Regions from separate parts of the Homo sapiens genome. Here all the other regions are linked to region 2. The links are contacts of gene promoters, found by promoter capture Hi-C in blood cells and fetal thymus (Javierre and others, 2016). All regions are on one chromosome and are shown on one strand. Each heading gives the region's core, a stretch centred on a gene start or on the middle of the fragment in contact. The rest is flanking DNA. Distances are from core to core; before and after follow the strand shown. Region 1 holds the start of TMEM86B (transmembrane protein 86B). Region 2 has its middle 9.8 kb from the start of LENG8-AS1. Region 3 holds the start of PRKCG (protein kinase C gamma). Region 4 holds the start of BRSK1 (BR serine/threonine kinase 1).

Region 1 (4,316 bases), core at 1,817-4,316, 790 kb after region 2:
GTCATGGATGGAGAAGTCACCTCTCTGCTGTAAGAGTCCCTAAATGCTGGCCATGGATGGAGAAGTCCCCTCTCTGTCGTAAGAGTCCCTAAATGCAGGTCATGGATGGAGAAGTCACCTCTGCTCTAAGAGTCCCTAAATGCAGGTCATGGATAGAGAGGTCGCCTCTCTGCTGTAAGAGTCTCTAAATGCTAACCATGGATGGAGAAGTCGCCCCTCTGCTATGAGTCACTGAAAGCACATCATGGATGCAGAAGTCAAATAGGGTCTTGGAGAGCAGCTTGGACCCTGTCAAGTCTTCAGATGCAGAATCTGAGGACCTGAGGGATAGCAGCTTGCCGAGGTCACACAGCCTTGACAAGGAGCACAGCTGGGTTCCTCCTTCCCATTTGATTCCTACCCCCTTGCCGCCCTCCCTCCTCCAAGACCCCTCATCCTCAAGCCTCCCACCCTTCTCCCGATACTGCATGTGACTGCAGCGGGTTGTATCCCCTAGAAAGATATGTCCAAGTCCTAACCCCAGATACCTCTGCAGGTGACACTACTTGGAAATAGGGGCTTTGCAGACATACTTAAGGATCTTGAGATAGAATCACCCTGGGTTTAGGGTGGGCCCTAAATCCAATGACCTGTGTCCCTAGAAGGATGCGGACACAGAGGGAGGCTGCCAGTTGAAGACAGTCACATGAAGACGGAGAGACACAGCCACAGGCCGATGGAAGCCAGGGATTCCCGGGAGCCTCCAGAAGCCGAGAGGGCAAGGACGGATTCTTCCCTGGAGCCTCAAGAGGGACCATGGGCCGGAAAACACCCGGATTTTGGACTTTGGGTCTCCAGAACTGCAGGAGAGTCCATTCATCTTGTTTCAAAGCATCTGGCTTGGGGTAATTTGTGACAGCAGCCTCAGGAAACTAACACAAAGACCAAACAGTCCTCTTGGCTCAGTTCTGCACAATCCTCACTTTATCCCCCCGAATCCCCCCACCAGAGGGCCATGGAGGGTCCCACTGGGCACCAGGCCTGGTCCATGGGGAGCGACAAAGAACCTTCTGCTGTCATTAACCGCGATGGTTTATCACAATCATGACCCTCCCCGAGGCCTCTCCTACGGTAACAGCAACATCTACGGTTCCACACCCACAGGGAAAACGGATTCAGAGCAGCAGCAGGGGGCGGGCAGGCTGTGGGGCCGACAGTGAACATGGAGGCAGGCTGGTGGCTGGGAGGGCTCCATGTGGGCCTGGCTGAGGAGCCAGGGATCTGGAGTCAGAACCGGGGGAAGGCAGCTGGAACCCAGTAGTGGACTTGGAATTCCGCAAATCGTCCTCAAACGTCTTCAGCCAGAAGCGACGGCGGCAGCGGCGCCTGCAGACAGGCGTCAGGAAGCTTCGCTGCTGAGGGTATTTCTCAGGCTGGGCTGGGCTGGGAGGCCCAGGTCCTTGCAGGAGGAGAGGGCCTGAACACCGGCCCTTCAAGCTCCCTAGTCAGTCAGTCTTGGGCACCGGGCTCCTGAGGGCTGACAGTGTGATGAGGAGCTGGGCAGCATAGTAGGTGGTCATGATCACCAGGTGGGCATGGGGCAGGGGCTGGGCGAAGGTGTCCCAGGCCAGCACGCCATCAGAGAGCGTGAAGAGCAGCGCGCCCCAGCCGGCACTCCCGCCCTGGGCCAGGCCGCGCCACAGCATGGCCATCAGGATCAGCCCATAGGCTGCCACCGGCAGGACCATATCCGGCTCGAGGTGCTGGAGCACAAGGCTGAGGTAGGGGCCAGGGGCCAGGATGATGAGCAGCAGCAGGCCGGGCTGCAGGGGAGAGAAGCCGAAGGCCCAGACGTAGAGGAGGTGGGCGGTGGCAAAGGCGGCCATGCCTGGCGGGAGAGGGGTGGGGTACCAGTGAGGAAGGCCCATCCTGGGAATGGCCCCGAGGTCACCCCTCAGGGCCTAAGAGAAGGACCATCCCAGAGCACCAGGCCCCACCCTGGCCGAGCCTCCTTGCAGGTCTCCCCACATGCAGTGTCCATCCTTGCTCTGCTCAGAACTGCCAGGAGGCCCCACCTTCCCTTGGCCTCCAAAGCCCCATGGCCTCCAGCTCTCCAGCCACTCTGCGCCAGCCACCCTGGCCTGCTGGGCTACAAGCACCTGACACGTCCCTGCCCCGGAGCCTTTACACTCGCCCTTCCTCCACACAGGCATACAGCCCTTCAGCTCTGCCCAAATGTGACTTCCTCAGTGAGGCCTTCCTCAGCAACCCTGCTTCAAACTGCAGTACCTCCAGCAGGTCCTCACTGCCCTCTGCGCCACCTCAGCTACTGCCCTAACACCGCCTGCCCCCACCCCTCGCTGGAGCGTGAGCTGCCTCGGTCACGGCTGCGCCCCCCACTGTGCCTTTGACCACTGGAGCTCTCACAGGAGCCCTCTGCACCCAGGCTCCCATCCAAGTGCTGGGGCCTCTCTCACACGGGCATCTGGAAAGCGTCACAGCACCTTCCACTCACCAGGGACGAAGGCTGCCGGCCAGATGAGGCAAGCGTCCCCCACAGCCGAGCACACAAGGGCTCCCTGGAGGAGCTGGGTGTAGCCCCCGCTTGGGGACATGACCCACAGGAACCCAGCCAGGCAGAGGACGGGCAGGCACTTGACCAGGGCAGCGAACCAGGACAGCTGGTCCTCGGGAATCCAGAGGCAGAAGTACACGCAGCAGGAGAGGATGAAGGGGCTCAGCCACCTGCAGACATCTGGGCGCTTTGGGGAGTGGGGAGCTACTGAGCCGAAACCCAGCCCAGCCCCCATTCTTGGGACTCAGATCTCATGGCTCCTGTCCCACCCCCACCTGGGACCCCAGCTGTACAGGCTGGACCCATTCAGGGACCAGGCTGCCAGAACCCAGCTTCCCAGGGCCCAACCAACTCAAGGACAGCAGCTCCCAGACCCGCCGGCTGCTGGGGTTCCAGGGCCCTGTCCCCCCAGCCCCAGGCACAGCTCAGAAGGCTCTCACCTGGGCTGAGCAGTGAGTCTTCAGGGTCTGCCCCGCTTTGCCAGCGTCCATGCTGGCCTGATAGCCCCAGAGCGACCTAATCTGGGAGCGAGTGGCTTCAGGGGGTGGAGGGGAGGGCTCATGGTTACACGTTAACCCAAGGAGCGTCCTGTGGACTCTGTGACTGATAACAGGGCCCAGGGAGATGTTGTCCTCACCCTGGGGATGGCCCTGCCTGGCGCCCGCTGATAAAGCACTGTTGGCACTGGGGGTCCCTCTGCCCTAGCCTGCTGGGACATGGCTTCCTCCTCCTATCTGCCTGGGGAGGTTAGGCCCACAAATGCCTGTCCCCTTGTCCTGGGCCCCAACAATCAGAAGAGATGGGGTGCAGAATTCCAACAGCCACCCCATCATGGGAAGCGGGAGAGGGGCTGGCTGGCAGGAGTGCCCCTGGAGGGATGGGAAGGCGAGTCTGTCCTTCACTTGCTGCCCTAGCCGTCTCCCTCCCTGCTCCATGAAACCTTTCCTCATTCTGCTCAACCCCACCAAGCCCTCAGGGGCTCCACCACAAACACTGCTTCAATGGGTGACCAGGAGGGACCACCACGAATGCGGGGAACAAGCACCCTCTCCTGTTAGCTGAGCGAGCCCCCAGGTGACCTCCAAGCCAACTGCCACCCCAGTGAGGACGCTGTCCTCATGGCCCGGTCCACACGCTCCGGTTTCCCAGCGCCGCTCACCGGTGCCACTCGCTGCACACGCAGCCTACACTTCTACCTTCTACCTGAAAGACTCAGACCTACTGGGCGCCAGTACCCAGCCTCAATGCTGGGCTTGGTTACTGGGGGTAAGCAGGGGCAGGAGCAGGGATTTGAGCCTGTCGGTGGCTTCTATCCTCTGCCCAAGGCCCTGCCCACAGGTGGGGTAGACCTGGCAGGAGCCCTCACAGCCAGTGCCTGGCCCAGCCTGGGGCCTCTGCAGCCACAGGGCTCCCTCTGGCAGGACAGTGTGGGGGCAGACTGGGTCAGGAGCACCCCCAGCCTCTGGGGTGCAGGGATAATACAGGCTCCCCACCCCGCATCCCAGAACGTAAGGTCTGACCAGCAGAATCGTAAACTGCCTTCCTTTATTTATATTTGCAATATGAAATAGAAGCTCGGCACAAACGCACGCACACTCACACCAGCCTGGGAGGAGGGAGCTGGGGACAAGGTCACTTGGCAACAGGGCTGGGACCTCAGACCCTCAAGGCCCCTGGGGCTGTTGCCGGGGAGGCCCCTGCTCCCCAGAGCCGGACTGGCCTGGTTGAAAGTGCAGGGTCTGGGCAAAGGCACGGCCCCCAC
Region 2 (3,768 bases), core at 266-2,765:
TTTTTTTTTTTTTTGTTTTTGAGACGGAGTCTCGCTCTGTCACCCAGGTTGGAGTGCAGTGGCGCGATCTCGGCTCACTGCAAGCTCCGCCTCCCAGGTTCATGCCATTCTCCTGCCTCAGCCTCCCAAGTAGCTGGGACTACAGGCGCCCGCCAACACGTCCGGCTAATTTTTTGTATTTTTAGTAGAAACGGGGTTTCACCGTGTTAGCCAAGATGGTCTCGATCTCCTGACCTCGTGATCCGCCCGTCTCGGCCTCCCAAAGTGCTGGGAATACAGGCGTGAGCCACCGCGCCCGGCCAAGACCCTGCCTCTTAAAAAAAAAAAAAAAAAAAGACAAAAAACAGAGAGAGGCTGGCTGCGGTGGCTCATGACTGTAATCCCAGCATTTTGAGAGGCCAAGGTGGGTGGATCCCTTGAGGCCAGGAGTTTGAGAGCAGAGTGGCCAACATGGTGAAACCCCGTCTCTACTTAAAGAAAAAAAAAATTAGCTGGGCATGGTGGCACAGGTCTGTAAGCCCAGCTACTCGGGAGGCTGAGGCAGGAGAATTGCTTGAACCCGGGAGGTGGAGGTTGCACCACTGTACTCCAGCCTGGGAGATCAAGTGAGACTCCATCTCAGAAAAAAACAAAACAAAACAAAACAAACCAGAGAAATTAGGAGAATATTTGTATATTGTCTGCATGTCATGTATCTGGGTAGGGAAAATGGGGAGGGAGGAGTTTAAGCAGGAGATCATAAAACCAGAAAGGAAAAGATAGCTTAGTTGGCAAATTATAGATTGAAAAACATACCGTAAAGTCAAATGGCAAATTGACAGACTGGGGAACAGTGAGTGTGTGCGTGCGTGTGTGTGTGTGTGTGTGTGTGTGTGTGTGTGTGTGTATGTTAACAGTTATGATGCAGAAATGTTATTCTTAAAAGATATAATCTACAAAAGCTTTCATAAACTAAGAAAAAGACAACCCATTTAAAAGTAATCAATTGAGTTGAATACTCAATAAAAATTCCAACATCAGTAAACAGACAAAAAGATTCAAACTCTAATAATTGGGAAATGCAATTTGAAAGAATGAGAAACTACACTTTTTCACTACCTAGACACAATGAAATTAACAAGAGTGGTGATGTCCTGGGCGGGCGAGGACCTAGAGGAACAGGCACTCAAAACACTTCTCCTGAGGCTGTGAGCTGCCACCATCCCTTGAAAAAAAAAAAAAATGCGCTTGTATGTGATCAGATCAAAACTGCATACACCCCATGCCCCAACAATCCTGCTTTTGGGAATTGATTTACAGAAAAAGACACACAGGCTTCTGAAGACTTCTATTTAGAGCTGCCTGTTACAACGATACCACTTTGATCAGCTAAACCCTGAAAACAAACATGCACAAAAAGAGAAGTCCAATAACTGACTGCACAGCAGGGCTCTCTGGAAGAAACCAGCTCTTGGCTGAGTTGAGGATGTGAGGGAAAAGCCTGGCAGAGAGGAGCTATCAGAGCAGGGTGTGGCAGACAGCAGTGGCAGAGTGGACTGAAGGAGAGGGGCCTGCACAGTGAAGGGCCCAGCTTATCATTCAAGGCACCCCAGGCCACCATCCTGGCCCTGCTTTTCATGACCTTCACGGATATGGGAAAGTCACTTGACCCGTTAGACCTCGGTTGCCTCTTTGATCAAACGGGTATCAGAAATCCAAAATTCCAAAATCCACAGATCCAAAGAGCTCCAAAGTCAAGCCATCCCCAAGCTCATTGGGCAGGAAAACCTGACCTGTGTTGGTGGGAGATGACTTACAGACATGACTGACACGCTTGGTGTGAACGTTCACATACTTCCCTGCAGAAAAGTTAACCAGGCTGCTGCACACTGCTGTGCTGAGCACTGAGGGTGCCGTGTGCCCTGTGGAGTAGAGATCATATTGCCTTTGCAACTGAAAAATCCTGAATCTCAACACACACCTGGCTCCGAGGGGATCGAGTTGGTGCTTGGTGACCCACAGTGCCAGATGCTGGTGTACAGCGTGGGGCCTGCTGCTGCTCTGTGCCTGTCAATCATTTCTATTTTGTGTACTGCAAGGAGCGTTCAGAGGAAGCTTTAGATATGTGGGCCTGACGGTGGGAATAAAAATCAACTGCAATTTCAGGGAGGGGTTCTGGGGGCCACATGCGTTCACTCACTTTTTCCTAACCATGTGGGCTGTCTGCCCCAGGCCCGGCCCTGCTGCTATGCTGACTTCTTTCCTCTCAAACACTGCCCTCTAGTGCCCCTGAGCCCATTTCCCAAGCACAGGCATCCGCTGGCTGTTGGGCGGCTGCAAAGTACCTTGAGACTCAGCTGCTTGATCTCCCATGCCAATGAGCCTGGGGGTGATCTCTCAACAAGAAGTTGGCCGGGCACCCTGGCTCACGCCTGTAATCCCAGCACTGTGGGAGGCTGGGGCAGGCGATCACCTGAGGTCAGGAGTTTGAGACCAGCCTGGCCAACACGGTGAAACCCCATCTCTACTAAACACAAAAATTAGCCGGGCATGGTGGCGGGCGCCTGCAATCCCAGCTACTCAGGAGGCTGAGGCAGGAGAATCACCTGAACCCGGGATGCGGAGCTTGCAGTGAGCCGAGATCGCGCCACTGCACTCCAGCCTGGGCGACAGAGCAAGACTCCGTCTCAAAAAAAAAAAAAAAAAAAAAAAAGGCATTTTACCCAAACTTTACAAAAGGAAAATCCAGTGTTATTTTTAGAATGTTACCTATGGGGGCTTCCACTGCGACCAGGATGGAGTCACAGAGACTGGACTTGACCCCCCAAAAATAGAGTAAATACAAGAAAACAACAGTGGTCAAGACTCTACCAAGAAAGTGATCCCTGAGGAACGGGAAACATCAAGGCAAGCCCTAAAATTGCCGCTGGGTCCTGTTGCAAGTTTCTAGACCACGGGACAGGGAGGGAAGACTGAGGCGGAGCTGGGAGGACTCCGTGAGCAGAGGAGACAAAGCAGGGAGTCTGAGCTTTGTTCTTGAGCTTTGTTTTGAGAATGAAGTTATGGGCCGGGTGCGATGGCTCACGCCTGTAATCCCAGCACTTTGGGAGACCGAGGTGGGTAGATCACCTGAACTCAGGTGTTCGAGACCAGCTTTGCCAACATGGTGAAACCCTGTCTCTACTAAATATATACAAATTCGCCGGGTGTAGTGGTGGGTGCCTGTAGTCCCAGCTACTCGGGAGCCTGAGGCAGGGGAATCTCTTGAACCTGGGAGGCGAAGGTTGCAGTGAGCCAAGATCGCGCCATTGCACTCCAGCCTGGGCAGCAGAGCGAGACTCCATCTCAAAAAATAAATAAATAAAAATAAAAATAAATTATCTTGGACTTCCAGCCTCCAGAACTGTGAGAAATAAGTGTTTGTTGTTTTTGAGCCACCAGTCCATGGTCCTCTGTTACTGCAGACTAGAATGCCAGGGAAAGAACCACCTGGAGGGACTGAAGCAAATAGCGCCTGAGTTCTGGGGACTCACACAGGCCTTGACAAGGCGCTGTTCCTGCCAGAAGAACCTCATAACTGAAGGAACACTGGGTAGAACACGGAGAGGGTCTTACATCAGCCGTGGGGAATAAGCAGCCCTAACCTGTTAAACACTGTTCTGGTCCTGCCTGAGGAATCTTAAAAGCAAAACCTGAAAGGATCAAGCTGCTTCCAAGTAAGGTGACTGCATTCTCAAACAAAGCTCAAGAATATTTATAGGCATACAAAAGTAACGAGTGCTCGACAAG
Region 3 (4,344 bases), core at 1,629-4,128, 560 kb before region 2:
TTCCCTTCGGCTTTGGGAATCCCAGGAAACCCGCCCCGAACCCCTGAAAAGTCCCAGAGAAGGTAAGCTGGGCGTCCAGAGTCCCTCCCAGGCGCCGCCGCAGCGTCCCGCCCAGCCTCGCGGGGCACGCCGGGAGGCGGAGTTCTCGGTCGTGTCCCGAGAGTGGCTGGTCCGCAGGCTCGGACTACCAGTCCCAGAATGCACTGCGCCCGCAGCCCGGGGCGGGCCGTGGTTGCCCCTGGCAACAGAGAGGGTCTCCCGGGAGCGGGGACTGGGAAGCGCTCCCGAGCCGGGGAGGCGCAGAGCCCGACCAGAGAGAGGCGGGGACGCGGGTAGAGCGACCAAGAGGTGTGGAGGCCGGAAGAGACTGACCGCGCCGGCCCTTGGAGAGACCCCTTTCCTGAGAGGGGGCGCACAGAGAGGATGCCGAAGCCAGCGAGATCTAGAGAGAGGGAGACAGGGATTGAATCACAGAGACACTTAGAGGGAGGGAGAGACCTCAAAGACAGAGAGATTCACAGGGCCAGAGAGACACGTAGAGTGGGTCAGAGAAGAGGACAGAGGACAGAGACATAGAAAAGACAGGAGGGAGAGAGACTGAATCACAGAGACACAGGGAGAGAGGGAGAGACCTCAGAGATGGAGAGAGACTCACAGGGCCAGATAGACACATGGAGTGGGTCAGAGAAGGGGACAGAGAGAGAGACACAGAAAAGGGAAGAGGGAGAGAGACTGAATCACAGAGACACAGAGAGGGAAGTCTCTATCTAGAGACCCTCGACAGAGATTCCTAGAGCCAGAGACAGAGATTCAGAGAGCCAGAGACACAGAGAGATTCATAGAGACATATAGAGAGATTCAGAGAGCCTGAATCACAGAGATTCACAGAGCCAACGAGACAAACAGAGAGATTCATAGAGCCAGAGACACAGATTCGGAGAGTCAGAGAGACATAGAAAGATTCATAGAGCCAGAGACACAGAGATTCAGAGAGTCAGAGAGACATAGAGAGACATTCATAGAGCCAGAGACACAGAGAGATTCATAGACATATAGAGAGATTCAGAGAGCCTGAATCACAGAGATTCACAGAGCCAAAGAGACAAACAGAGAGATTCATAGAGCCAGAGACACAGAGGGATTCGGAGAGTCAGAGAGACATAGAAAGAGATTCATAGAGCCAGAGACACAGAGATTCATAGAGACATAGAGATTCATAGAGCCAGAGACACAGAGATTCAGAGAGTCAGAGAGACATAGAAAGACATTCATAGAGCCAGAGACACAGAGAGATTCAGAGTCAGAGAAACATAGAGATTCATAGAGCCAGAGACACAGAGAGATTCAGAGTCAGAGAGACATAGAGAGACATTCATAGAGCCGGAGACACAGAGAGATTCAGAGTCAGAGAGACATAGATTTATAGAGCCAGAGACACAGATTCAGGGAGTCAGAGAGACATAGAGAGACATTCATAGAGCCGGAGACACAGATTCAGAGTCAGAGAGACATAGACATTCATAGAGCCAGAGACACAGATTCAGAGAGTCAGAGAGATGAATAGATTCAGAGAGCCAGAGACACAGGGAGAGTGAATCACAGACACAGAGGGACGGGGAGATCCCCAGAAACAGAAAGAGATTCATAGAGCCAGAGAGACAAATAGAGATTGGGTCAGAGAGAAAGGGACAGAGACAGAGACAGAGAAGAGAAGAGGGAGAGAGATTGGGTCAGAGAGAAAGGGACAGAGACAGAGAAGAGAAGAGGGAGAGAGAGACTGAGTCATAGACAGGAGAGAGACCCCCCTAGCATCAGAGAGAGAGAGAGAGATCAACAGAGCCAGAGAGGGACAAGTACAGAGAAACAGATGGAACCAGAGAGATATAGGAAGAGACAAACAAAAACAGAGACGGAGTTGCAGAACCGGAGGAAGGGAGAGAGACAGAGACAAAGGCATTTATAAAGACGGGTGGAGGTGAGGAGAGAGAGGGAGAGACAGGGGCAAGCATTTAGAGAGTGACTCCCAGAGAGGAAGACAGAGACGGACTCCCAAAGAGATCAAGTTGCAGAGGGAGGGGGAGACAGAGTCACAGCCTGAGAGAGAATAGAGATTCACAGAGCCAGAGAGACAAAGACAGGGAAAGAAACAAACTCAGGGAGACAGAGGCGGAAGAATTTATCAGACGTAGAGGGAGAGACAGAGGGAGACTGATTCACAGTGAGGCAGACCAAGACCCCGAGAAGAACCACGACACCAAGACCCAGAGATGGCGACAGATACAGATGGAGACACACAGCAGAGGAAATAGAGAAATAGAAAGAAATAGAAACAGCATTTCTCGGAGACAGGGAAAAGAAAACAGATCCACTGAGAGGCAGAAACAGAGACACATCGAGAAAGCTCGCTCCAGGAATAGAGGGAGAGGGACAGAGGTCACAAGAAAGACACACGCAGGCAGAGAGCTACACAAATAATGGAGAGGCCAGGGGAGGAAATAAAGACTCAGCCGGCATCGGAGAAAGTGAGAACCTTAGCGCCCTGCCTGTCCACTGCTGGACCCCTAGCGTGGAGCATAAAGTTTGTTGAAGGAAGGAGAGGGGCAGGGTCAGACACAGGGACCCCAGGGCGCCCACAGGACACACGAGGCACCCTAGTGGGGGAGGAACGCGGGGCAGGATGACAGATTGCAGGGTGGTGGGGGGGAGCCAGGCTCAGAGGATGCCCCTCCCTCCAGCCAGCCCCCGGAGTGGGTGTGTGCACGTGTGGGGGGCGGGGAGGGAGGACATTTGTCCCGTGTCTCCGGGAGGGGAGCGCCTTTAAGCCGAAACCCCGCCCTCTCGGTCGTCCTGGCAACGCCTCCCCCAACCCGGGGCTCCCACATTTCAGCAGGTGCCGGAGCTGGAGCTCCCACCGCCGCCGCCCGTGCCTCCGGCTGCCGGCGCCCCTGCCTTTGGCTCTTCCTCCCCACTCGCCCGCTCCCCCTGGCGGAGCCGGCGCGCCCGGGGTGCCGCTCCCTGCCTGGCGCGCTCCGCACCTGGAGGTGCCTTGCCCCTCTCCTGCCCACCTCGGAATTTCCCTGTGGCTCCTTTGATCCTTCGAGTCTCCAGCTCCTCTCCCTTCCACCTGTTTCCCCCAAGAAAGGCAGGATCCTGGTCCCTGCTACGTTTCTGGGGCCATGGCTGGTCTGGGCCCCGGCGTAGGCGATTCAGAGGGGGGACCCCGGCCCCTGTTTTGCAGAAAGGGGGCCCTGAGGCAGAAGGTGGTCCACGAAGTCAAGAGCCACAAGTTCACCGCTCGCTTCTTCAAGCAGCCCACCTTCTGCAGCCACTGCACCGACTTCATCTGGTGAGGGAAGGGGGCTGGGGGACTGGGGGACGAGGGGACTAGGGGTGCAGACTCCTATCACGCCGACCCCTGTGGAAGGAAGAAGGAGGGGGCTGTAGTCCCGACTCCCAGGTTCTAGGATGGCCAGGGAACGCTGGGAGCTTCGACTCCTGGGTTTCAGTGAGGAGGAGGCTGGTTCCTGGAGTGCTGGGTCCGAGGGAGGAGGAGGCTGGAGGACAGAGGTCCTGGAGTCTTGGGTCTGAGGGAGGAAGGGCCTGGGGGGCTGGGAGCCTGGATTCCTGGGTCTGAAGGAGGAAGAAACTGGGGGCTGAACTCCAGTCTAAGGGAAGAAGGGCTGGGGGCCAAAATTTCTGGGTTCTAGAAAGAGGAGGTGGCCGGGGCTTGGACACCTGGGCCCTGCGGGAGGAGGGTCAGAGAGCGCAGGCCCCCTGTGGCTCGCAGAGGTTGGGGGTCCAGGTACCCCTTTCTGCACTGACCTAGGATCCCTGACTCTTCCAGGGGTATCGGAAAGCAGGGCCTGCAATGTCAAGGTAAGAGCTGGGGACCGGGGCTCCTGGGACCCTCAGGAGGGTGGAGGCTGGGGCCCCACAGCTGAGGCTGCTTGACACACGTGTTCTCTGGTCCCCAGAGAGGCGCGGGGGAGCCCGGGGCGGGGGGTGTGGCAGAGACACAGCCTGTGGTGGGGAGGGAGCTTTGATGGTGGGGCCACCGCGGAGGTGGTGCTGGGGGCCCCTCCCTCGGCCGGCTCCAGGTGGGGACAGATATTTGGAGAATCTGTTGCCATGGGAACATGGAGATTTGGAAAAGGGGAGCTGAAGGGGGGAAGGGGGAGGGGGCTGGAGATGCAAAGTCAGAGCCCCCCCCCACCCCAGGCTGCCGTCGCCATGACAACACCAGCCGTCCTAGGCAGGGGCAGGCCGGGTGGGGTCACCAATGGGCGAGTGGGGGCCGGGCGGGGCCGGCAGTTCTGGGGGGCGGGAGAGGGGGGCGAGTCCTTG
Region 4 (4,048 bases), core at 1,228-3,727, 850 kb after region 2:
CTTGTGATTCCATCGAGCTCACCCAAATAACTGGGATAATCTCCCTATCTCAGTCACATGGGCAAAGTCCCTTCAGCCATGCAAGGTAACTTATGCACAGATCCTGGGAATTAGGACACGGACATCTATGTACAAGTCTATCAGTTTATAATACATGGCCGGGGGCAGTGGCTCAGGTCTATAATCTCAGTACTTTGGGAGGCCAAGGTGGGAGGATCACTTGAACCCAAGAGCTCGAGACCAGCCTGGGCAACATAGTGTGTCCCCAGCCCTACAAAAAAATACAAGAATTAGCCATGTGTGATGGCATCTGCTTATATCACAGCTAGGCAGGAGGCTGAGGCAGGAGGATCACTTGAGCCCAGGAGGTCGAGGCTGCAGGGAACTATGACTGCCCTACTGCACCCCAGCCTAGGCAACAGGGGGAAGACCCTGTCTCAAAAAACAAAACAAAACAAAAAAAAGAGGGTGATCATATAATTTTTCATCTATAGCAAGACATTTGAGAGCAAAAAGGGACTCAATAGTTACAGAACCAGGCCAGGTGTGGTAGCTCACGCCTGTAATCCCAGCACTTTGGGAAGCTGAGGTGGGCAAATCACAAGGTCAGGAGTTTGAGACCAGCCTGACCAACATGGTGAAACCCCATCTCTACTAAAAATACAAAAATTAGCCAGGCATGGTGGCGGGTGCCTATAATCCCAGCTACTCGGGAGGCTGAGGCAGGAGAATCGCTTGAACCCAGGATGTGGAGGTTGTAGTGAGCTGAGATTGTGCCACTGCACTCCAGCCTGGGAGACAGAGCAAGATTCCGTCTCAAAAAAAAAAAAAAAAAAAAAAAAAAAAAAAAAAAAAGGCTACAGAACCAGCCTGGCTAACAGGGTGAAACTCCATCTCTACTAAAAATACAAAAAAAGCCGGACGCCTAAAATTGTACCCTGCTCAACAGGCCCCTCTTAACCCCCTTCCCTGCTGTAGTCACCTCCTCAGCACGGACATGATTATCTAACACACCATACATTTTGCCTATTGACCTTGCTGATCATCTGTTTCATCCACCAGCATGGAAGCTCCACAGGACAGGCCTTTTTGCTGATTTAGGTCACTGCCACGTTCTTACCAACAGGAACAGTGCCTGGCTGAGATTTGGCACTCATTAAAGATGTGTGGACTCAAGGTGTTGAATGGGGGACTGGGAAATCTCACAGGAGCCAATAGGCTCCTGTGTGCACTTTATTTTATTTTATTTTTGTTAGAGACAGGGCCTCACTCTGTTGCTCAGGCTGGAGTGCAGTGGTGCAAACGTAGCTCACTGCAGCCTAGAACTCACTGACTCAAGCCTCAGCCTCCCAAGTAGCTGGGACTACAGGCACATGCCACCATGCCCGGCTAATTTTTAAAAAAATTTTTGTAGGGATGGGGTCTCACTGTGTTGCCCAGGCTGATCTTCCCACCTCTGTCTCCCAAAGTATTGGGATTACAGGCATGAGCCACCTTGCCCAGCCCTGGGTGTGCTTTACAGGGGACTTGAGAATTAAATGGGTGTCTAACACTTGCGGGTACATGACATAGAGGGATCTATGGTTTATGCGGAAAGCTAATGGGGGCAGGCGGGTTACTCACAGGCAGAGCACATGCTTGTGGACCTGCTACAGTGGGGATGTATGGGCTGTACTGGGGTCCACATGAAGATATAAAGGACCCTATGACGAGCACAGAGAATATATGGGGGTCTAAAAACATAACACAGGGAAACTGAGGGGGTTCTGGAAGCTTCTCTGTAAAGAGAATCCAAAATCACTCTGGGCTGTGGGTAGATATGGGGCCTTGACATTGGTGGGGACACAGACTTACCCTTACCCTGAATGGGTGGCCTTAGGGGGCTGGGGAAACAGACATGAATTTTGGGTCAGCAACTCCAAGAATTCTTTCCCCTCTCTGTCTCTGTCTCCCTCCATATGTCCCCACCTCTCCCCAGCACGTGTCCCTCCACCTGTGTGTACCCCCGGCCCTCTCTACAGCTCCATCTGCGCCCCCTCTCCCCCACCTCTCTGGTTGGTCTTCCTCTCTCTGTCTCTCTGAATCTCTGACTCTCTCCATCCCTCTGTCGGCTTCCAGCAGCTTTCTCTCCCTCTCCCTGTCTGTTTTCCCGGCTTGCCATTCCTTCCTTCTCTTCTGTCCCTGTCCATCTCTGCCCTTCCTCCCTCTCTGCCTCAGCCTGTCTCTGGTGGTCTCCATCCCTCTGGCGTCTCTGCCTGTCTCCCGTCTCTGTGTCAGCCAGCATCTCTCTTTGTGTATCTCCATCTCTGCCCCATCTGTTGGGTCCTCTCTCTCTCTCTCCATCCTTCCCTCCATCCTCTCTCCTGCATCCTCCCACCTCCTCTCCATCCCTCCAGCTGGAGGCCCGCCCCCTGCCCCCCCTCGCTCCCCCTCCCCCCTCCGAAAGGGTTAACTTTGGGGAAGGGCCCGGAGTCCCCGGATGGTGATGTCAGCGTGCCGGAGAGAAAGGACGAGGTGGCGGGGGGAGGCGGAGAGGAGGAGGAGGCGGAGGAGAGAGGGCGCGTGGGGGGGCGGGGGGGACCTCGGCCTGCAGCATCCGCCGGCCCGCACCTCAGACCCCCCCGGCGGGGGGAGGCGCAGGAAGCGGGGGGCCGGCCAGAAACGGGCTGGGGAGGGGGGGCCCCGCAGCCCCCCTGGGCCATGCTGACTCCCGGGGCCTGACCCCCCCGGGCCAGCCCCCCCTCCCCCAGCTCCGCGGCCCGCCGACTGGGGGGGGCCAGCCCAGCCCCCTGGGGACCCCCGGAGAGGTGGGGGGCAGCCGGGGGGGCCGGGACGGAGCGGTCGCCGGCCCCCACCGGAGAGACGGGGCGACGGCCGCAGGGGGGGCGGCCGGGGGACCGGTCGGGCCGGGACCAAGGGCACCATGTCGTCCGGGGCCAAGGAGGGAGGTGGGGGCTCTCCCGCCTACCACCTCCCCCACCCCCACCCCCACCCACCCCAGCACGCCCAATATGTGGGCCCCTATCGGCTGGAGAAGACGCTGGGCAAAGGACAGACAGGTGAGCCTAGCAGAAGGGGACACCTGGGGCGGGGGGCAGGGTGGAGGTGGCGGCAGAGGCGGGACTCAGGGTATTCAAATGGCAGGGGCTGGCTGCCCAGACCCCTGGGCCCCTCATAGAGAAGGGACTTGGGATTCAGACTCCTGGGTCCCTGGATGGAGGGGGTGGGGGGCGCAGACTCAGGTCCTGGAGGAGAGGGGCTGGGGGCCTGGACTCCTGGGTCTGAGGGAGGAGGGGCTGGGCACTGGACTCCTAGGTCTGAGGGAGGAGGGCCTGGGGGCCTGGACTCCTGGGTTTCAGGGAGGAGGGCCTGGGGGTCTGGACTCCTGGGTTTCAGGGAGGAGGGGCTGTGCTTGGACTCCGGAGTCTGAGGGAGGAGAGGCTGGTGGCCTGCACTCCTGGGTCTGAAGGAGAAGGGCTTGGGGGCCTGGACTCCAGGGTCTGAGGGAGGAGGGGCTGGGGGTCTGGACTTCTGGGTCTGAGGGAGGAGGGGACTGGGGTCCTGGACTTTTGGGTTTGAGGGAGGAGGGACTGCGGTCCTGGACTTTCAGGTCTGAGGGAGGAGGGCCTGGGGGCCTGGACTCCTGAGTATGAAGGAAGAGGGTCTGGGGTCTGGACTCCTGGGTCTGAGGGAGGAGGGGCAGGGGTGCTGAACTCCTGGGTCTGAAGGAGGAGGGGCTGGGGGCCTGGACTCCTGAGTCTGAGGGAGGAGGGCGGTCGGAACCTTGAGTGTTGGGACAGGGAGTTTGGGGCCCCAGTGCTCCAGTCCCCATAGGGGCAGAGGCTGGAGGGGCTCCAGGGCCAGGGAGGGGATGGAGGCGGCCTGCAGAGTGGGGCCGGGCTGGGACCTGAGGTTCTTGCTGCAGTACAGCTGCAGACCGGGGTGCAGTGCATCCATCCTGGGAAACCTCTTCCCTCCCCACTGTCCTCTGGCCTCCAGTTCTCCAGGCAGCAGGTTGGGGTGACAGGGGCCGTGGGGCCTAAGACAT

What was found. Contacts are between HindIII fragments. The CHiCAGO score rates a contact against its expected background, and 5 or more counts as called.
Region 1: a contact is called between the fragment with the promoter of TMEM86B here and a fragment that was not itself captured in region 2, in 1 of 17 cell types (monocytes). The highest score is 5.7, in monocytes.
Region 3: the fragment with the promoter of PRKCG here is called in contact with a fragment that was not itself captured in region 2 in 1 of 17 cell types (monocytes); the score reaches 5.1 in monocytes.
Region 4: the fragment with the promoter of BRSK1 here is called in contact with a fragment that was not itself captured in region 2 in 1 of 17 cell types (fetal thymus); the score reaches 5.1 in fetal thymus.

The regions. Positions count from the first base shown.
Region 1 is chr19:55,225,697-55,230,012 of GRCh38, forward strand. It overlaps TMEM86B (transmembrane protein 86B), which reads right to left and starts at 3,067. Exons shown (of 3, transcript NM_173804.5): 1 at 2,995-3,067; 2 at 2,495-2,741; 3 at 942-1,867. The coding sequence starts at 3,045. The coding sequence ends at 1,485. It overlaps PPP6R1 (protein phosphatase 6 regulatory subunit 1), which reads right to left. Exons shown (of 24, transcript NM_014931.4): 24 at 4,083-4,316. The HindIII fragment of the contact is 5,765 bases long and covers 1,385-4,316 here.
Region 2 is chr19:54,437,353-54,441,120 of GRCh38, forward strand. No RefSeq gene overlaps it. Among named protein-coding and RNA genes, the nearest start is that of LENG8-AS1, 9.8 kb to the right of the region's middle. The HindIII fragment of the contact is 1,153 bases long and covers 940-2,092 here.
Region 3 is chr19:53,879,319-53,883,662 of GRCh38, forward strand. It overlaps PRKCG (protein kinase C gamma), which reads left to right and starts at 2,879. Exons shown (of 18, transcript NM_002739.5): 1 at 2,879-3,346; 2 at 3,845-3,876. The coding sequence starts at 3,177. RefSeq lists an enhancer at 3,331-3,882. The HindIII fragment of the contact is 17,886 bases long and covers 1-4,344 here.
Region 4 is chr19:55,281,520-55,285,567 of GRCh38, forward strand. BRSK1 (BR serine/threonine kinase 1) reads left to right here and starts at 2,478. Exons shown (of 19, transcript NM_032430.2): 1 at 2,478-3,059. The coding sequence starts at 2,924. The HindIII fragment of the contact is 8,428 bases long and covers 1,772-4,048 here.